Regions from separate parts of the Homo sapiens genome. Here regions 1, 2, 3, 4 and 6 are each linked to region 5. The links are contacts of gene promoters, found by promoter capture Hi-C in blood cells and fetal thymus (Javierre and others, 2016). All regions are on one chromosome and are shown on one strand. The core of a region is centred on a gene start or on the middle of the fragment in contact, and the rest is flanking DNA. Distances in the headings are between cores, read along the strand shown. Region 1 overlaps LOC105370601 (a long non-coding RNA gene). Region 2 overlaps LINC02301 (long intergenic non-protein coding RNA 2301). Region 3 overlaps LOC107984704 (a long non-coding RNA gene). Region 4 overlaps LOC107984704 (a long non-coding RNA gene). Region 5 holds the start of LINC01148 (long intergenic non-protein coding RNA 1148). Region 6 overlaps LOC107984704 (a long non-coding RNA gene).

Region 1 (2,700 bases), core at 53-2,552, 3.6 Mb after region 5:
AATCTTTTATCAAACAATCATTTAACCTCTACTATGTGTCCTATGCACAGTAGATATAGCAGGGAAAAAGAAGACAAAGTGTTTGCCTTCATAAATTTATATTGCAGTGGGAAAAAGTAGAAAAGTTACATGAATTTAAAAATATATATTTTTTTATTTCCAGCTACAAAGAAATGAAACACATGAATGAAACAGCAAGTGACCAGTGACTAGATGGGTAGAGGACAACATTAGTGTGGTTATAGAAAATGTTGCTAAAGAAGTAAAACTTGAGCTGAGATCTAATTGATGAAAAGAAAACACCCATGCCACGATGCAAAATACGTGGCTTCTTAGAGGTGAAAGAAGAACCAACAAGTTCAAAAGCCCTTCAATAATAATACCTCTGCCACATTCAAGGGAAGAAAATAAAGAAAGAAAAGGAAAAAAAGAATGAGGAAAAGAAGGAAAGGAGGGAGGGAGGAAGAGAGAGAGGGAGGAAAGAAGGAAGGAAGGAAGGAAGGAAGGAAGGAAGGAAGGAAGGAAGGAAGGAAGGAAGGAAGGAAAAGAAAGAAAAAAGAGAGAGAAAGAAACAAAGAAGGATAGGAGAGGAGAGGCAGGGAGAGGAGGGGAGGAAAGCGAGAGGAAGGGAGGAAGGGGAGGGGAGAGGAGGAAGGGATGAAAGAGGGAAGGAAGGAAGGAAGGAAGGAAGGAGAGAAGGCCCAGTTTCTAGAACCAAGACCATGTGGATGAATTGTACGGACTCAGATCAGAGACTGGAAAGGGCAGATCACATAGGTTTTGTGGGTCATTGTAAAGTTTCAGGGTTTAGTTCACAGCATAATCGGAAGCCATTAGAAAGTTTTAAGCAAGGGAGTGCTAAGATTTGATTAGGATATGAAAAGATCATTTGGACGTAATTTGGAGAATTAATAGAAGATGCATGGCAAAAGAGGTAGGAGTGAAGATGAGGAGTTAACATTTATTCAAACAAGAAAAAAATAGGAAAATTTATTCCTAGCGTCCCCTGTCTTACTATACAATAGAGTTTGTGAATGAAAATTATTTCAAGAAATCCAGGGCAGTGTTTGCTACACAGCAAGAGTAGAGTTACCATGAGAATTAAGCTCCAGAATTCCCCATTTGCACAGTTCCTTCTAAGATTCTGAAGATTCTGAGGATGCAGAAATTGTGTATTCACAATTTTGTGTTCTTATTTAATTTTATGTAAAAGGGATTAGCAAAGTGGACAAGCTGCAGGCTCATTGACTTGGATCAGCCTTAATGTTAGGCCTGCTATCCAAAACCAAGATATTTTTGTCCTACAACATGCTCATTATACACTTTGAATCATATGTTATAGCCAATATCTTTTTCCTAGCTAGTTGTTTTCCTCAATTGTATCTTCAAGGGTATGTGCTCCTTGAAATAATATTCTGTGTACGTTTTCTAATTTGTTAGCTCACACAGAGGTCTAACTCAAAGTGTGTCTATTTAAATGAATAAAAGATTATCAACTGAGGTGTATGGCTGAAACTTCAAGGACAGGTCATAGGTTAGGTTACAAAACAAGTCTTAAAACATTCAAAAAACTTGAGATAATATAAGCATCTTTTCAGACCACAATGGAATAAAACTATAAATTAATAATGAGGAATTTTTGAACTACAAAAATACATGGAAATTAAATAATATACTCCTGAACGACCAGTGAGTCAATGAAGAAATTAAGAAGGAATTGAAAAAATTATTGAAACAAATGATAATGGAAACAAAACATACCTAAATCTATGGGATACAGCAAAACTAGTACTATGAGGGAAGTTTATATGTGCATACATCAAAAAAGAAGAGACACTTAAAAAAAATCTAATGATGCATCTTAAAGAACTAGAAAAGCAAGAGAAAACCAAACCCAAAATAAGTAGAAAATAAATAATAAAAATCAGAGCAAAAAAGAAATTAAATTGAGATGAAGAAAACAATAAAAAAGATCAATGAAAGAGAAGTTAGTTTTTTAAAAAGTTAAACAAAATTGACAAACCTTTTGTCAGACTAAGAAAAAAGAGAAGATACAAATAAATCAGAAATGAAAAAGGAGACATTATAACTAATACTGCAGTAATTCACATGATTATTAGCGGTCACTATGAGCAACTACATGCCAATAAATTGGAAAATCTAGAAGAAATGAACAAATTCCTAAATACATACAACCTACCAAAATTGAACCCTGAAGACATCCAAAACCTGAATTGATCAGTAACAAGTAGCAAGATGGAAGCCATAATAAAAAGTCTCCCAATAAAGGGCTCAGGACCTGGTGGCTTCCCTGTAAAAGCCAGGGACATGGTGGCTTCCCTGAATTCTACCAAACATATAAAGAAGAACTAATACTAATCCTATTCAAACTATTCCAAAAAACAGAGGAGAAGGGAATACTTGAATACTTCTAAACTCATTCTATGAGGCCAGTATTACCCTGATATAAATACCAAACAAAGACACATCAAAAAAAAGAAAACTACAGGCCAATATCTTTGTTAAATAGTGATGCACCAAAATGATGGGAGTCATTAGAGAGGGTTCTCTGCTTCCCTGCAAAAGGCCTTTTCTAGCATTTTTATTATCATTATCACCACCCTTTATATATGGATGGAAATTTGTGATTGGCAGCACGTTTCAGAAGTAAATTAAGTAATTTGTTTCTCAACAAATCTG
Region 2 (2,700 bases), core at 61-2,560, 4.2 Mb after region 5:
GCAGCTCAGGAGTGCCAAGCCGTAATCTACAGCCAGCAGTCAAGTGGGAGAAGAGCCCACACTTGCAGAGCATTGAGAGGGAACATGACTGCAACTGTGAAGAAATATATGAGAGCCACACGACTGAGCAAGAGCCAACTACCTGGCCACTATGCCTAAGTGCTACTTACTGGATCATACCTCTGAGCTTTAAGTCCAAAAATACCTCACTAATATAACCTGTGAAACCAAAGACAAGAAGTCAGCTATAAATAAAAACACTGCACAAAGGCTCAGCTACGTGAAAACATCCAGAAAAGAAGTCTGTTAACTGTACTTAATCTACATCACAGTTAAAGGAACACCTACATGTAGATATGAAAAAGAACTAACTCAAGAACTCTGGCAACTCCAAGGACCAGAGTGGCTTATGTCCTCCAAATCATTGTACCAGTACTCCAACAAGAGTTCTTAGGTTAAGCTGGCTGAAATGACAAGAATAGAATTCAGAATATGGAATGAAAATCATTAGGATTCAAGAGAACATCAAAACCCAATCTAAGGAACCTAAGAATCACAATAAAATAATACAGGAGCTGACAGATGAAGTAGCCAGGATGAAAAAAGAACCTAACTGATCTGATAAAGCTGAAAAACACACTACAGGATTTTCATAATGCAATTGCAAGTTTTAACAGCAGAATAGGCCAAGCTAAGGTAAGACTCTGATCTTAAAGACTGATTCTCTGAAATAAAACAGTCAGGAAAAAAAAAAAAAAAGAAAAGGAAAGGAAAAAGAGAAGGAAAAAACATATCCTCTGAGAAATATGGGATCATGTAAAGAGGGAAAAGGTACAAATCACTGGCATCCCCAAAAGGGATAGGCAAAAATCAAACGACATGGAAAACATATTTTAGGATATCATTTATAAAAACTTCCTGAACCTCACTATAGAGGCCGATAGTCAAATTCAGGAAATGCAAGGAACTCCTGCAAGATTCTACGTAAGATTACCCCAAGACACATGATCATCAGATTTTCCAAGGTTGAAATGAAAAAGAGAATGTTAAAGGCAGCTAGAGAGAAAGGGCAGGTTACCTGAAGAGGAACCCCATCAGGCTAACAAAAAACCTCTCAGCAGAAACCCTCCAAGTCAAGAGAGATTGGGGGCCTATACTCAACATTCTTAGAGAAAAATTTTCAACTAAGAATTTCATATACAACTAAATGAAGCTTTCTACATGAAAAAAAAATAAGACTGTTTTCAGATAAGCAAATTCTTAGGGAACTCATTACAACCAGACCCATTTTACAAAAGATCTTGAAATGAGCACTAAATATGGAAAGAAACGACTAACTAGCCAATAGAAAAAACAGTTAAATACACAGACCAGTGATACTATGAAGCAACTACGCAAACAAGCTTGCATAATAACCAGCTAAAAATGCAATCACAGGATTAAATCCACACATATCAACACTAACCTTGAATGTAAATGAGCTAAATGCTCTATTTAAACAGCAAAGAGCGGCAATCTGAACAAAACGAAAGACCCAATGATATGCAGTCATCAAAAGACCCATCTTACATGCAGTGACACCAATACACTCAAAATAAAGGGATGGAGGAAAATCTACCAAGCAAATGAAGAAAACAGAAAAAAAAAACAGGGGTTGCAACCCTAATTTCAGACAAAACAGACTTTAAACCAACTAAGATCAAAAAAGACACAGAAGGCCATTACATAATGGTAAAAGGTTCAATTCAATGAGAAGACCTAACTACCCTACATATACAGCACTCAACACAGGAGAACCTAGATTTATAAAGCAAGATCTAAAAGGAGACTTAGACTCCCACACAGTGATAGTGGGAGACTTCAATGCTCCACTGACAGTATCAGACAGATCACTGCAGCAGAAAATTAACAAAGATATTCAGGACCTTAACTAAACATTGGACCAAATGGCTCTAACAGACCTCTGCAGAACACTCCACTCCCAAAACAACAAAATAGACATTCTTCTCATTGCCACATAGCACATACTGTAAAATCAAGAACACGGTCAGAAATGAAACAATCCTCAGCAAGTGCAAAAGAACCAAAATTATATCAAACACACTCTCAGACCACAGCACAATAAAAACAGAAGTCAAGACTAGGAAAATCACTCAAAACCATACGACCACATGGATATTAAACAATGTGCTCCTGAATGACTTCTTGGAAAATAATGAAATAAATGCAGAAATCAAGAGGCTATTTGAAACTAACGAGAACAAAGATACAACATACCAATGTATCTGAAACACGGCTAAGGCAGTGCACAGAGGGAAATTTATGGCAATAAATGCCCACATCAAAAAATTAGAAAGATCACAAATTGGCAGCCTAACATCACAACTGAAAGAATTAGAGAAGCAAGAGCAAATCAACCCCAAATCTAGCAGAAGACAACAAATAATAAATATCAGAACTGAACTGAAGGAAATTGAGACACAAAAAAACCATTCAAATGATCAATATTTCACTGGTTTTTTGAAAGAAATTAATGAAATAGTCCACTAGCTAGACTAATAAAAATAGAGAGAGAAGATCCAAACAAACACAGTTTGAAACAGCAAAGAAGATGTTACCACCCACCCCACAGAAACACAAATAACTCTCAGAAACTACTACGTACAACTTTATGCACACAAACTAGAAAGCCTAGAAGAG
Region 3 (2,700 bases), core at 114-2,613, 4.9 Mb after region 5:
TACTTTACCTAATTTTTGAGGCATTCCTCAACACCATCTTCCTTGTTTTCAGATCCTAGACAGTTTTCCATGGATCAAGTGCAAAAAATGATAGTATCTTTTTTTTATTCCTTCAGAGGCTTTGTTTTTCATATTTTGCTTCTTCCTCATGGTATCATTCTTCTCCTTCTTTTCCAACAGTGCTCACTTATGGATGATGAACTTTTGGCAAGGATGAACTAAAGCCACTTCTTAGTAGTAAAAATCAGACCACTCTTCTCCACGGCAAATTCTCTCATCCTTCGTAACATTTTCATCTCAGCATCTTTCAAGTGTCTTCCCCTCTTAAGATGAATATCAGTAACTCTAGGGTTGAGTGGAAAGAAACTAACAGAATCACAGACACTTAAAACTGGAGTCATCTTAGCTATCACCAGTCTCCTCTCTTTCAATTCACATTCAGTTATCAGCGAATTTTTAGCATATAACTAAGCTAGAAGTTTATTGCATTGATGCATTTAATTTTATATAATCCTCACAACAATTCCATAAGCTACGCTTATCCTCATTTTAGGGAAAAATGAAACAAAGGCTAGGAGAGGTTATTTGCTTGTCAAATAGTTAGGCAGTAGCAACACTGTGCCTATACTAACGGTTCCTCTCTTCCAGGTCAGGAAACCAATTTGTTTTAAATTCAGGCCAATCACTGTACATTATCCATAATATCCAAAGCATGTTGCCCAGATGAACTAGCCAGCAACAGGCTGAAAATCAAATAAATACTAACGTAAAATGCTAAATGCCAAGGGTAACAGCCTTCAAAAAGAAAATTCCAATTAAATAACAACAAAAAAACCCTCTTTTGTTGTATATGGTTTACATTATGCTGTAGCTACATTTCTAACAGTGAAGACTGGTGAAAAATGTTTCTCCTCAGATATTCTTAAAAGAGAATTCACCCAAAGTTGCATTTTGCTTGTTTCACTGGTAGGAAGGATGAGATAGAGAAGAGAGACTGATAAATTATTTATGAACAAGACTGCTTCACTGATCAGATTTGGTGATGAAAGCTTCTTTGAAAACCCATGAGGAACATTCTTAACGGAAATTATATGCACTTCTCTTGGGTTGTCACTTTTTTTTTTCCCCTGCTATTAGTTTGATTTTGGCTTCGCAGTCACCACTGTGCAGAAATGTAACAGCAAACACAATGAAAAGCCTTTCCACATGATTATTTTCGAAAGTAATAAGACATGTGTGACCTGGAAAATCAGCCCTTCCGACGTGTCAGGTAAGGAGGTAGATTATTATATTTTTAAAAGCTGCCTTTATCTTTGCATTGTGCAGGAACTCAGAGGCAAACTTTTAGGAGCTAAGGATGGACTTTTGCTGCCATCTACTGGTGTGTGATGGAAGAGCAACATATGCTTCTGAACTTTCTCAAATGGCGATGAGAGAATTCAAAGTTGGGAGATGAGGGAAAGCGTTCTTTTGATTAGGTATGAAAGTCCTTGTAGAGAGGAATTTCTACAGCCAGTCATGGGACCATAGGTACCTTCTGCTAGAGAATTTTTAATAGCAACCCTCACCTATAATCTAATTATTTTACCCATGAGAAGGGCAGTCACTTTCCCCTCATTTCTTCAACCACAGTAAATCTGAGCATCTCTATATTCATATTCATTCCCTTGAAGCTTAAAACTGAAAAGGAATAGCATAACCATTTGGTTACTCATATAAGCTTTTGTTGTCAGAACAAGCTCTGAACAATTATAAGCTGCCTGGAAATTCAGGAGTTATGTCACATCTTTAAATATTATTTTTCTTAATACAGAAAATGGGCAACACTTCAGTGCCATTGTTCATCCATTCATTCCATGTACACTTACTGAGATGCTTGGCATGAGGATTAAATGTGGTCATACACATAAAGTTCCCTGCAAATACCTGACACACATAAGCTCCCAATAAAGGCCAATCTTCACCTCTTAACATCATCACCCCTAACTTCTCTTCATGGTAAAGTGACTAATGATTTCAAATTTGTAATATTGAAGGGAAGAAACTACCCAGAATGAGCTCATTGGATCATAAGTTTCCCTGAGAAGTTAGAAATCTACTTTCTGTGCCTCAAGGAAGGCTGTAACAAGAAGAAAGGATGGTGACGCCAAAAGAGAAAGACAAGTATGTTGATCAGAAGATTTCTGCATTGAGTCTATACGAATGGTAGGATATATCTGAATTCCCATCCAGTTATCACAATAGTCTCAAAGAAGGTGAAATGATTCGATAAGACTTGGAAGTTTAAAAGAATGAATGTACGTGGAAGATAAAAATTATTATACTCAGGTTATTTCACTTTGGTTATACATATTTGTTTTATGAGCAGCACTTTCAATTTGGCCAGATATGTAGATTCAGGAAAAATGGGAAGTTATGCTCTTGGGAGGGGGAGCAAGAAGGAAGTAGAAACAGAACCACTTCCTAATGAATTTCAACAGGCGAAATATGTAAGTATGTGAGATTTTTAAAGCACTTACTTTATAATAGCCTTATAATCATCACTATTAAAAAGATTTAGGAAAATAATCATGCCATACTCATAAGACTTCCTCCAACAGGTCCATTATATGCCTACACTGTACTGTAGTCCGTTAAGTGTGCAATGGCAATAAGTCTGAGAATAACAACGTACATACCTTACTTTTAAAATGCTTTATT
Region 4 (2,700 bases), core at 2-2,501, 4.9 Mb after region 5:
GGAAGGCATAAAGAACCTGTCTTCCCCTGAAGCAACTGATTCTACTTCCTTAAAGAGATCAATGACCTAGCTCACTCATCTATCTGAGGGCTCCCTCCCTAAATCTGATCTTCTTCCATCTGCTTTGAAAGTGGGTTAAGCCCTCTGGGTCATGTAAAGTCTGCAGCATAACCTGAAAACAACTTGATATAAGCCCAGCACCAAAAAGTCCTCATGACTACCCTGTTTGGTTCCCCCAAAGCACTACTGTCCATATGGAGAGGTATTTTATAACCCTTCATGGCTTTTTACTTCTTTCCAGTATTAAAGTATATAAGCAACTAAAAGGGATGATTTCTCAGCTGCAATAGCTCATTTGAAATTCACTCCATAATTAACAACTTTGAAAGCAAAGAGGTAAATTTTGTCACATGTATTATTAAAGCAGAGTGAAGTCCCCCAGGACCAAATTAGATGCTTGATTAAAAATGTCCGTGGTAAAAGAAACAAGTAGATAGGGATTTGTGCTCTCAGCAATCCCAAATTAGCACACTGATTGAAGCACCTGTTCAAGCCATGTGGAAAGACACAGATCTTGGGACTGCCCTGGTGAATGAGGACTCAAGTTTCCCAACTTGAATGCAGGTCAGCTAGAATGCAAATGGGGTCATCTGAAACTAGAGGAGATAAGCGAATGAGAGGAGGGACCCAATGGGCAGGTAATCATGGTGTAATGAAAAAAGTAATGAGTGGAAATTCGTAAACCTGGATTCATTCATTCTTTAACAATTCCATTTTATTTCCAAGTACTGTGCTACATGATAGGTTGTAGGCTTCTGTTTTGTTCCCTGCCACTCCTGATCTTGGCCATGACTCCTGCTGCCTCTACACCTCCATTTCCACTTGTGTAAATTAACAGGGTGGAAAGAAATGATTATTAAAGGAACGCACACAATTTTAGGAAAAGAATGCAAGTTAAAACTTTAATTTTTTAATTTTATTTGGAGATACAGTATATTTTCCTTTAACTACATTCAACTGGATTTTGTCAAGACTTTTTAAACTCTAATCCCCTGACAAGCTTCTAAAATTGTTCACAATTGTCTCCAAGTAGTGCTACACAGTCATGGGTAGAAAGTCAAACTTCACCAAGGCAGACAGGACTGCCACTTTGGCAGGGGAATAATCCTACAACTCCGATGCCTCAGAAAGATGAGGACGACAAAACACCTTCTTAACTTGTTGGTAATTATGGCAGGCAAGAGAGAATTTAATGAGCTTGGCAAAATAGCTCAGTGGCACTCTGCCTAGTCTCAGCTCTGTGCATCCCATATCCAGGGAGAGTCCTTTGTTGAAACAGACCTGATTCTCTTGAGTTACTTTTGCCCTTTCTGTTTTTCTCCTAAAGCAATATGTTTGGTTGACAGAAAAATTCTTCCCTACAAAGGCACCTACCAAGCTTACACATAATACAAATTCAATTAAATTTTTTAAAGCTATAAGAAAACACGCTAACGTAGTAATCCCACAGACTGTACCTTAATGATCATGCCGACCGTGGCCAAGTTAAAACTGTTGTGGGAATCATAATTTGGAATTTCCTGCTCCATTTAAAGTCTCCAGGGTCAAATTGCCATAAAGATCTTTCTTATATTGAAATTCCATCTTTCCAGAAAGTAAAGAACAACCTACCTTTATATCCAAAGGAAATCAAATCCAAGAGAAGAATTAGAAAGTGACCTTGGATATGTCATTTCACCCTTCCGAAGCTCATCAATGAAATGAAGGTTGTTGGATCTCTTAGTCCCTTGCCAGCACTAACATCATGTGATTCTGCTGTACAGGTGCTACCCAGTAATTGAGGGTTATATAAATCACACAGGAGTAAGAAAGAACACTAGACCACTAAGAAAGGCAGTTAGAAGCATACAGCTCAGATCCCCTTCAAAACGTCAGCCAACAGGCTTTTTTTCCTTGGCTTACTGCCTTTTTAGCTGTCAACACCTTATACTGCCTCTTCCACAGGATTTTTTAAATGAATAAAATAAAAATGCTTTAAAATGATCTAAACTCTAAAGGATGACTTCAGGCTAAGAAGGTTAAAAACTGCTGGTGAATAAAAGGTTAAGATGACCATTCATTGAAGAATGTGGTTTCCGTGGTTATTTTGTATTATACACTGAAGACATTTTTCCTAAAGTTCTTATCTCAAGATATGGCACATTCCAGGCTCTATCCTCACATGACAACCTATATTTTACAGAATCCTTAATTAGTGAGTGAAGCCCTATGACATATTGTAAGGTTTTGATGACACAGAATGTACAAGTAAAAGCCTTTCTCAGTGACAAGGGAGAAGGTCTACTTATGAGTTGCATTTGAATTAGCATATTTTTTCTCATTCTTGAAAACAACTTTTGTCCATGTGATTAAAATCTAGCTACCACATTAAAGAAGAAGAAAAAGAAGGAAGGAATGAGAATGAAGAAGAGGAAGAGGAGGTGAAGGGAATGAAAGGGAAGGGAAGGATGTAGAACATAAGAGTTGGTATAAGGCTGTGGGAATGAAGAGAAGTGAGGAATACAGGGACCCAGTTTTGCACTAATTAGTTTTGTGCTTGATCTTAAATAAATCAGTAGATTTCTCTGATCCTAGATCCTTCATCTATAGAATGATTTGGCTGAATTATTAATGATTATTAATGGTGTTTACCATTTCTTC
Region 5 (2,712 bases), core at 188-2,687:
ACGCATGAGGAAGTTTATTCGGAAAGATGACATTGAGTTTCTAGCCCTTTAATATACATAGGGTTAAACTATAAAAGCGCTGAGATAAATCTTTGCATGTGCTACAAGGTATAATAATTATGACTGGCTTAAACTATAGACTCATTTGATGTGATCAAGTGATGCCCACGTCTTATAATTGAGGGACATTATTTGCCAAAAACCCCTTCTCAACATGTGCTCCATAATGCACCTGAAGTACCTTCATTATCATAACATGACTTTATGTTTAGCATTACCCTCTTTTCTGGAGTCTTCTTTTAAAATGTTGATATTTCAACAATTAGATAACCTCCCTTCTTGACAGGATATTCCTGACCAATATAGGAAGAAAATAAATTATTTTGTTATGAAAGACAGAAGACAACAATAGCAAACTGCATACTCTACCACTGTATTTAGAATCAGTCTCAAATTTAGCTGGACTTCACATTCATGGATTCAGCTTTACAGGTTATGTAATATTTTGAGATATAAATTCACATTGGAAGACTTGTCATGAATAGACCAAGAATCCTTAATTCAAAGCATCATTTAGAAATGTTAATTTTTGTCAATCAATACTAAATAATCTTCTGGGGTTTCCCTCGGTGATATCCTAACACTCAGTGGATGTCATTTTTATTTTATTTTTAATATCAGTATCATCTATATTCCTCTTTTTTTGGTTCTATTCAACAAACTTTTACTGATCACCTACTATAAGCCAGGTTATCTCTAGATACTTGGATTACAAATATAGATATGTTGTTTCTTCCACCTTGAAGAATTTCAATTTTCTAAGAGGGGGCAATCAGGGGACACAAAATTACATAGACTTCCTAAATGACCATACTTTAAGAGTAAGAGGCACAAAACAAACCAACCAACCAACCACCACCAACAACAAAAAACAAAAACAAAAACAAACACCCATAATTTATAAAGGGTATAGTATTTGGGGAGGGGGTGAAATTGACACTAAAACTTTCTGTGTAAACGGAAAAATGTTGTTTTTAAAACTGTTTTAAAATAGTTTCTGTCTCTTTAGAGGTCGATTTATCTTGGGCAAGCAATAAATACTTTTGCTCTCAGAAAACCGCCAAAACTTATTTTCTTATTAGCTGAGTAGAAAACAAGTACTCACCATTGTGGCTATGGAAGACATAAGCAGGCCAAAGGCATCATTCACCTAAGTAGAGACGAGGTGACAGCGTGCTGTCAGTCCTCACAGCCCTCGCTCCCTCTTGGCGCCTCCTCGGCCTTGGCGCCCACTCTGGCCACGCTTGAGGAGCCCTTCAGCCCGCCGCTGCACTGTGGGAGCCCCTTCCTGGGATGGCCGAGACCGGAGCCGGCTCCCTCAGCCTGCAGGGAGGTGTGGAGGGAGAGGCACGGGCGGGAACCGGGGCTGCGTGCTGCGCTTGCGGGCCAGCTAGAGTTCCGGGTGGGCGTGGGCTTGGCGGGCCGCGCACTCGGAGCGGCCAGCCGGCCCTGCCGGCCCCTGGTAGTGAGGGGCTTAGCATCCTGGCCAGCAGCTGTGGAGGGTGCGCCGGTTCCCCCAGCAATGCTGGCCCACCGGCGCTGCGCTCGATTTCTCGCTGGGCCTTAGCTGCTCCCCCGCGGGGCAGGGCTTGGGACCTGTAGCCTGCCATGCCTGAGTCTCCCCGCCCCGACGACGCCGTGGGCTCCTGCGCGGCCTGAGTCTCCCGGACGAACGCCGCCTCCTGCTCCAAGGCGCCTGGTCCCATCAACCGCCCAAGGGCTGAGGAGTGCGGGCGCACGGCGCGGGGCTGGTAAGCACCTCCACCTGGGGCCCCAGTGGGAGATCCACCAGGTGAAGCCAGCTGGGCTCCTGAGTCAAGTGGGGACTTGAGAATCTTTATGTCTAGTTAAGGGATTGTGAATACACCAATTGGCACTCTGTATCTAGCTCAAGGTTTGTAAATGCACCAATCAGCACTTTGTGTCTAGCTGAGGGTTTGTAAATACACCAGTCAGCACTCTGTATCTAGCTAATCTAGTGGGGACGTGGAGAACTTTTGTGTCTAGCTCAGGGATTGTAAATGCACCAATCAGCACCCTGTCAAAACGGACCAATCAGCTCTCTGTAAAACAGACCAATCGGCTCTCTGTAAAATGGACCAATCAGCAGGATGTGGATGAGGCCAGATAAGAGAATAAAAGCAGGCTGCCTGACCTAGCAGTGGCAACCGTTGGGGTCTCCTTCTGCATTGTGGGAGCGTTGTTCTCTCACTCTGCAGTAAATCTTGCTGCTGCTCATTCTTTGGGTCCACACTGCCTTTATGAGCTGGAACACTCACTGCGAAGGTCTGCAGTTTCACTCCTGAAGCCACCGAGACCACAAACCCACCGGGAGAAAGGAACAACTCCAGACGCGCCGTCTTAAGAGTTGTAACACACACTGGGAAGGTGTGCAGCTTCACTCCTGAGCCGGGGAGACCACGAACCCACCAGAAGGAAGAAACTCCGAACACATCCGAACTTCAGAAGGAACAAACTCTGGACACGCCGTCTTTAAGAACTGTAACACTCACCGCAAGGGTGGTGGCTTCACTCTTGAAGTCAGACCAAGAACCAACCAATTCCAGACACAGAGATATGTTTGCCATACAAATTATTGTTCTGCCGGGTAAATGAAGTTGCATGTATCTTTCAATATAAAATAAGTGCAAA
Region 6 (2,700 bases), core at 75-2,574, 4.9 Mb after region 5:
GCTCCCCAGAACACTGAAGCCTTTGGGGTTTCATGCAAGTTCAAGCAGTGCCTCTGCATGGTCTCTGGGCAGCTCCTTCTGCCAGTCCAAAGGTCTGTGGGGGTCGTGGAACTCTCTTGTAGCTAGGATCCCAGGGGCCAGCAGCAGGAATGTGGTATCCTGGGGTTCCTTCACTTACCCCTTCCTTGGGCCTGGGTCTGGGTCTGAGGGCTGGTCCCGGCACCCAGCGATGTTAAGTAGGCAGCCCTGTTTTTTCCTTCTTCAATCACAGTGTCTTCCATCACCTCCCTATTGAATTTCAGTGTTCCCTCTCAAAAGATGTGTTTGAAGTATGTTTTACTCAATGTTTTGGCTCCTCTTTATGGAAGAGGTGCATCCCAGCTACATCTAATCAACTACCTTGAACCTCTCCATAAAGTATTTTGTTCTAAAATATAAAATGAAATTCCAAAATAATTTAATCTTTAATAGCTACCACGACTTCTGCAAGACATTTCGGACATCATTGGAGATAAAGGATATATTTTGAGACAGGAAGATGAACTTAGAGCTCTGAAAATCATGTTAAGCATTTGTTTGCCCCTTTATTTAAAGTTGTCCCTGACATCTATAATTTCCTAGCAGTCAAATAATCAAAACTATTTTTTAAGAATGCAGTTCTCTCAAGTAGAGATTATTGGTAAGATCCCTTTGAGGTATAAATGAAACATTTTAAATACAGGTAATCTATTTAAGAAAATACAGCATAAAGATTTCATTCAAGAGATGCTAAATCCTCTCTGATTCTAAGGAAATAAGAGATCTCTTTTAGCTGGACTGGTAAGGAAAGGCTTTATGGGAGAGGTGCCAATTAGCTTGAACTGTGAACTATGTTACGTAAGACATTTATTGGTAGGTAAATGAGGGAAAGGTTAAACATTAAAGTTCTGTGTAGGGTAAAGATAACCCATGAAGCATTTGGACTACAGTGAGGAAAGAAGTTTAAATGAGACAATGTATTCCTGTAAAGAAGTAATAAATGATGGAATGAGAAAGGATAGACTGAACCCAGAGAGTAAAGTATCTTAAATGCCAAATCAAAAACTTTGAACTTTATCCCGAAGGCAGGCAATGAAATGTCATTGAAATCTGATTAACAGGAGAATCACAGTAAAAATTTATATCAGTTTCTGTACTTAGTCATAACCAGTTAACCACTTCTCAAGTCAGTTAAAATTTGAAACTGAGAACATAATGTAATTCAGTAAACAAAAATGATACCCATGCTTTCTTTCTATAGCTCAGAAATTCATAGTATTTCTTACCATTGGAGCTAATGTGACTAAAGGTAAGACATTCACATTTGGCGTTAGGAGTCCTGGGTCCTCAGGCTCTGAAACTGCCATTAGGATCTAATGTCACTGGTTAAATCACTGATTTGCTTGACACTTCATAATCTTATCTGTCAATGAGTGATGATGGTAATATCTGCTGTACAGACCACACAGTATTGCGGAAAAATTAAGTGATCATTGCAAACAACCTAATTTTTTGAGAGGCTTTATTCATCAAAAGAATTTTTTATGGATTAAAAAATGGTTTCAATTTAACTGACAAAAAATAAAATGAGTTGAGTTATTAAAGTCCAAGAAATATGTACAAGTCAGCAAGTACCTGGTGCAGAAGCAAAGAAGAAAACTTGGAATGTTTGCACTCTGACTCCAAGAGGACAGGGTCAGTAATCCAGTTGGAGTTTGACCTAATTGAGCAGAGGGTCCAGCAACGTTTGAACTGTGGCCTGAGCATAGACTGTGTTAATAATATTATAATGAGAAAAAGGCTCATGCAAATGAGCTGAGGAGTAATCAGATGTAGAACAACTAATGGTTCAGCTACTGCCCCCTAGGGGAAAAAAATGGGTGCAATGCTACAAGAAAACAAAAACCTCAGGGATCAAAGTGAATGAGTCAATATAAACGCCAAAGAAATGATTTATGGCACAACCACAAAATGGGATACCACGAAATATTGTGAACATGAAGAAAAGTTACTGATATTATTTGCTATATTATTAAAGAAACATGAACAGCATCACACATACACACACGTACATATACAGGGAGAAAACAAACAAAATATGCACCCAGATATCTATTTTTTAAAGAATCTTGAAGAAAGTTATCTCTGGATGTTGAAATTTAAGGTTGTTTATTTGTATTTTATTGGTAATTCCTCCAAATTGGAAAGGTGTTATATATATATATATATACAATAAAATTATGCTTTTTAATTGAATAATATGCTACATATTAAAAGAAGTGGTAAAGTACTAGTCAGATGAGTTATTATTCTTAATTATGATTAATTAATAGTTAACTTTTTCTATCCAGCTGCTTCTATGATTTCAACATAAATCATATCAGTGGGAAGCAGCTCATATGGCCTTAGGAATACAGAACTGGGGGTCAAATATTAGCTTCCCTTCTTGGTAGCTGAATGACCTTGGGCAAACTAATTAACCTTGGTATGTCTTTGATATTTTAAAGGTAAGATACACATAATGATACCTGCACCAAGATTGTTCTCAGCATTAAATAAATTGGCAAGAGTACGGTGCTTTCACTAGGTAAAAATAATGATTCGATACAGGTTAGCCACACTTATTATCACTGATCTATACATTCAGCAAAGATTTACTGAGTTCCTATTCAGTGTCAGAGA

What was found. The method cuts DNA at HindIII sites, captures the fragments that hold promoters and counts their contacts. A CHiCAGO score of 5 or more calls a contact.
Region 1: a contact is called between a fragment that was not itself captured here and the fragment with the promoter of LINC01148 in region 5, in 2 of 17 cell types (M0 macrophages and M2 macrophages). The highest score is 10.3, in M0 macrophages.
Region 2: a fragment that was not itself captured here is called in contact with the fragment with the promoter of LINC01148 in region 5 in 7 of 17 cell types (total B cells, naive B cells, M0 macrophages and 4 more); the score reaches 14.9 in total B cells.
Region 3: a fragment that was not itself captured here is called in contact with the fragment with the promoter of LINC01148 in region 5 in 14 of 17 cell types (naive B cells, non-activated CD4 T cells, endothelial precursors and 11 more); the score reaches 52.7 in naive B cells.
Region 4: a fragment that was not itself captured here is called in contact with the fragment with the promoter of LINC01148 in region 5 in 1 of 17 cell types (endothelial precursors); the score reaches 5.7 in endothelial precursors.
Region 6: a fragment that was not itself captured here is called in contact with the fragment with the promoter of LINC01148 in region 5 in 3 of 17 cell types (total B cells, naive B cells and endothelial precursors); the score reaches 12.8 in total B cells.

Annotation. Positions count from the first base shown.
Region 1 is chr14:83,291,969-83,294,668 of GRCh38, reverse strand. All of the region lies in intron 3 of LOC105370601 (a long non-coding RNA gene), which reads right to left. Among named protein-coding and RNA genes, the nearest start is that of LINC02305, 620 kb to the left of the region's middle. The HindIII fragment of the contact is 5,486 bases long and covers 1-2,700 here.
Region 2 is chr14:82,703,123-82,705,822 of GRCh38, reverse strand. All of the region lies in intron 5 of LINC02301 (long intergenic non-protein coding RNA 2301), which reads right to left. Among named protein-coding and RNA genes, the nearest start is that of LINC02301, 62 kb to the right of the region's middle. The HindIII fragment of the contact is 190 bases long and covers 1,216-1,405 here.
Region 3 is chr14:81,989,135-81,991,834 of GRCh38, reverse strand. The region is part of intron 3 of LOC107984704 (a long non-coding RNA gene); the gene reads right to left. Among named protein-coding and RNA genes, the nearest start is that of LINC02311, 250 kb to the right of the region's middle. The HindIII fragment of the contact is 624 bases long and covers 1,052-1,675 here.
Region 4 is chr14:81,971,364-81,974,063 of GRCh38, reverse strand. The region is part of intron 3 of LOC107984704 (a long non-coding RNA gene); the gene reads right to left. Among named protein-coding and RNA genes, the nearest start is that of LINC02311, 230 kb to the right of the region's middle. The HindIII fragment of the contact is 378 bases long and covers 1,063-1,440 here.
Region 5 is chr14:86,904,503-86,907,214 of GRCh38, reverse strand. LINC01148 (long intergenic non-protein coding RNA 1148) reads right to left here and starts at 1,437. Exons shown (of 5, transcript NR_038445.1): 1 at 1,166-1,437. The HindIII fragment of the contact is 4,593 bases long and covers 1-2,712 here.
Region 6 is chr14:82,008,400-82,011,099 of GRCh38, reverse strand. All of the region lies in intron 3 of LOC107984704 (a long non-coding RNA gene), which reads right to left. Among named protein-coding and RNA genes, the nearest start is that of LINC02311, 270 kb to the right of the region's middle. The HindIII fragment of the contact is 6,325 bases long and covers 1-2,700 here.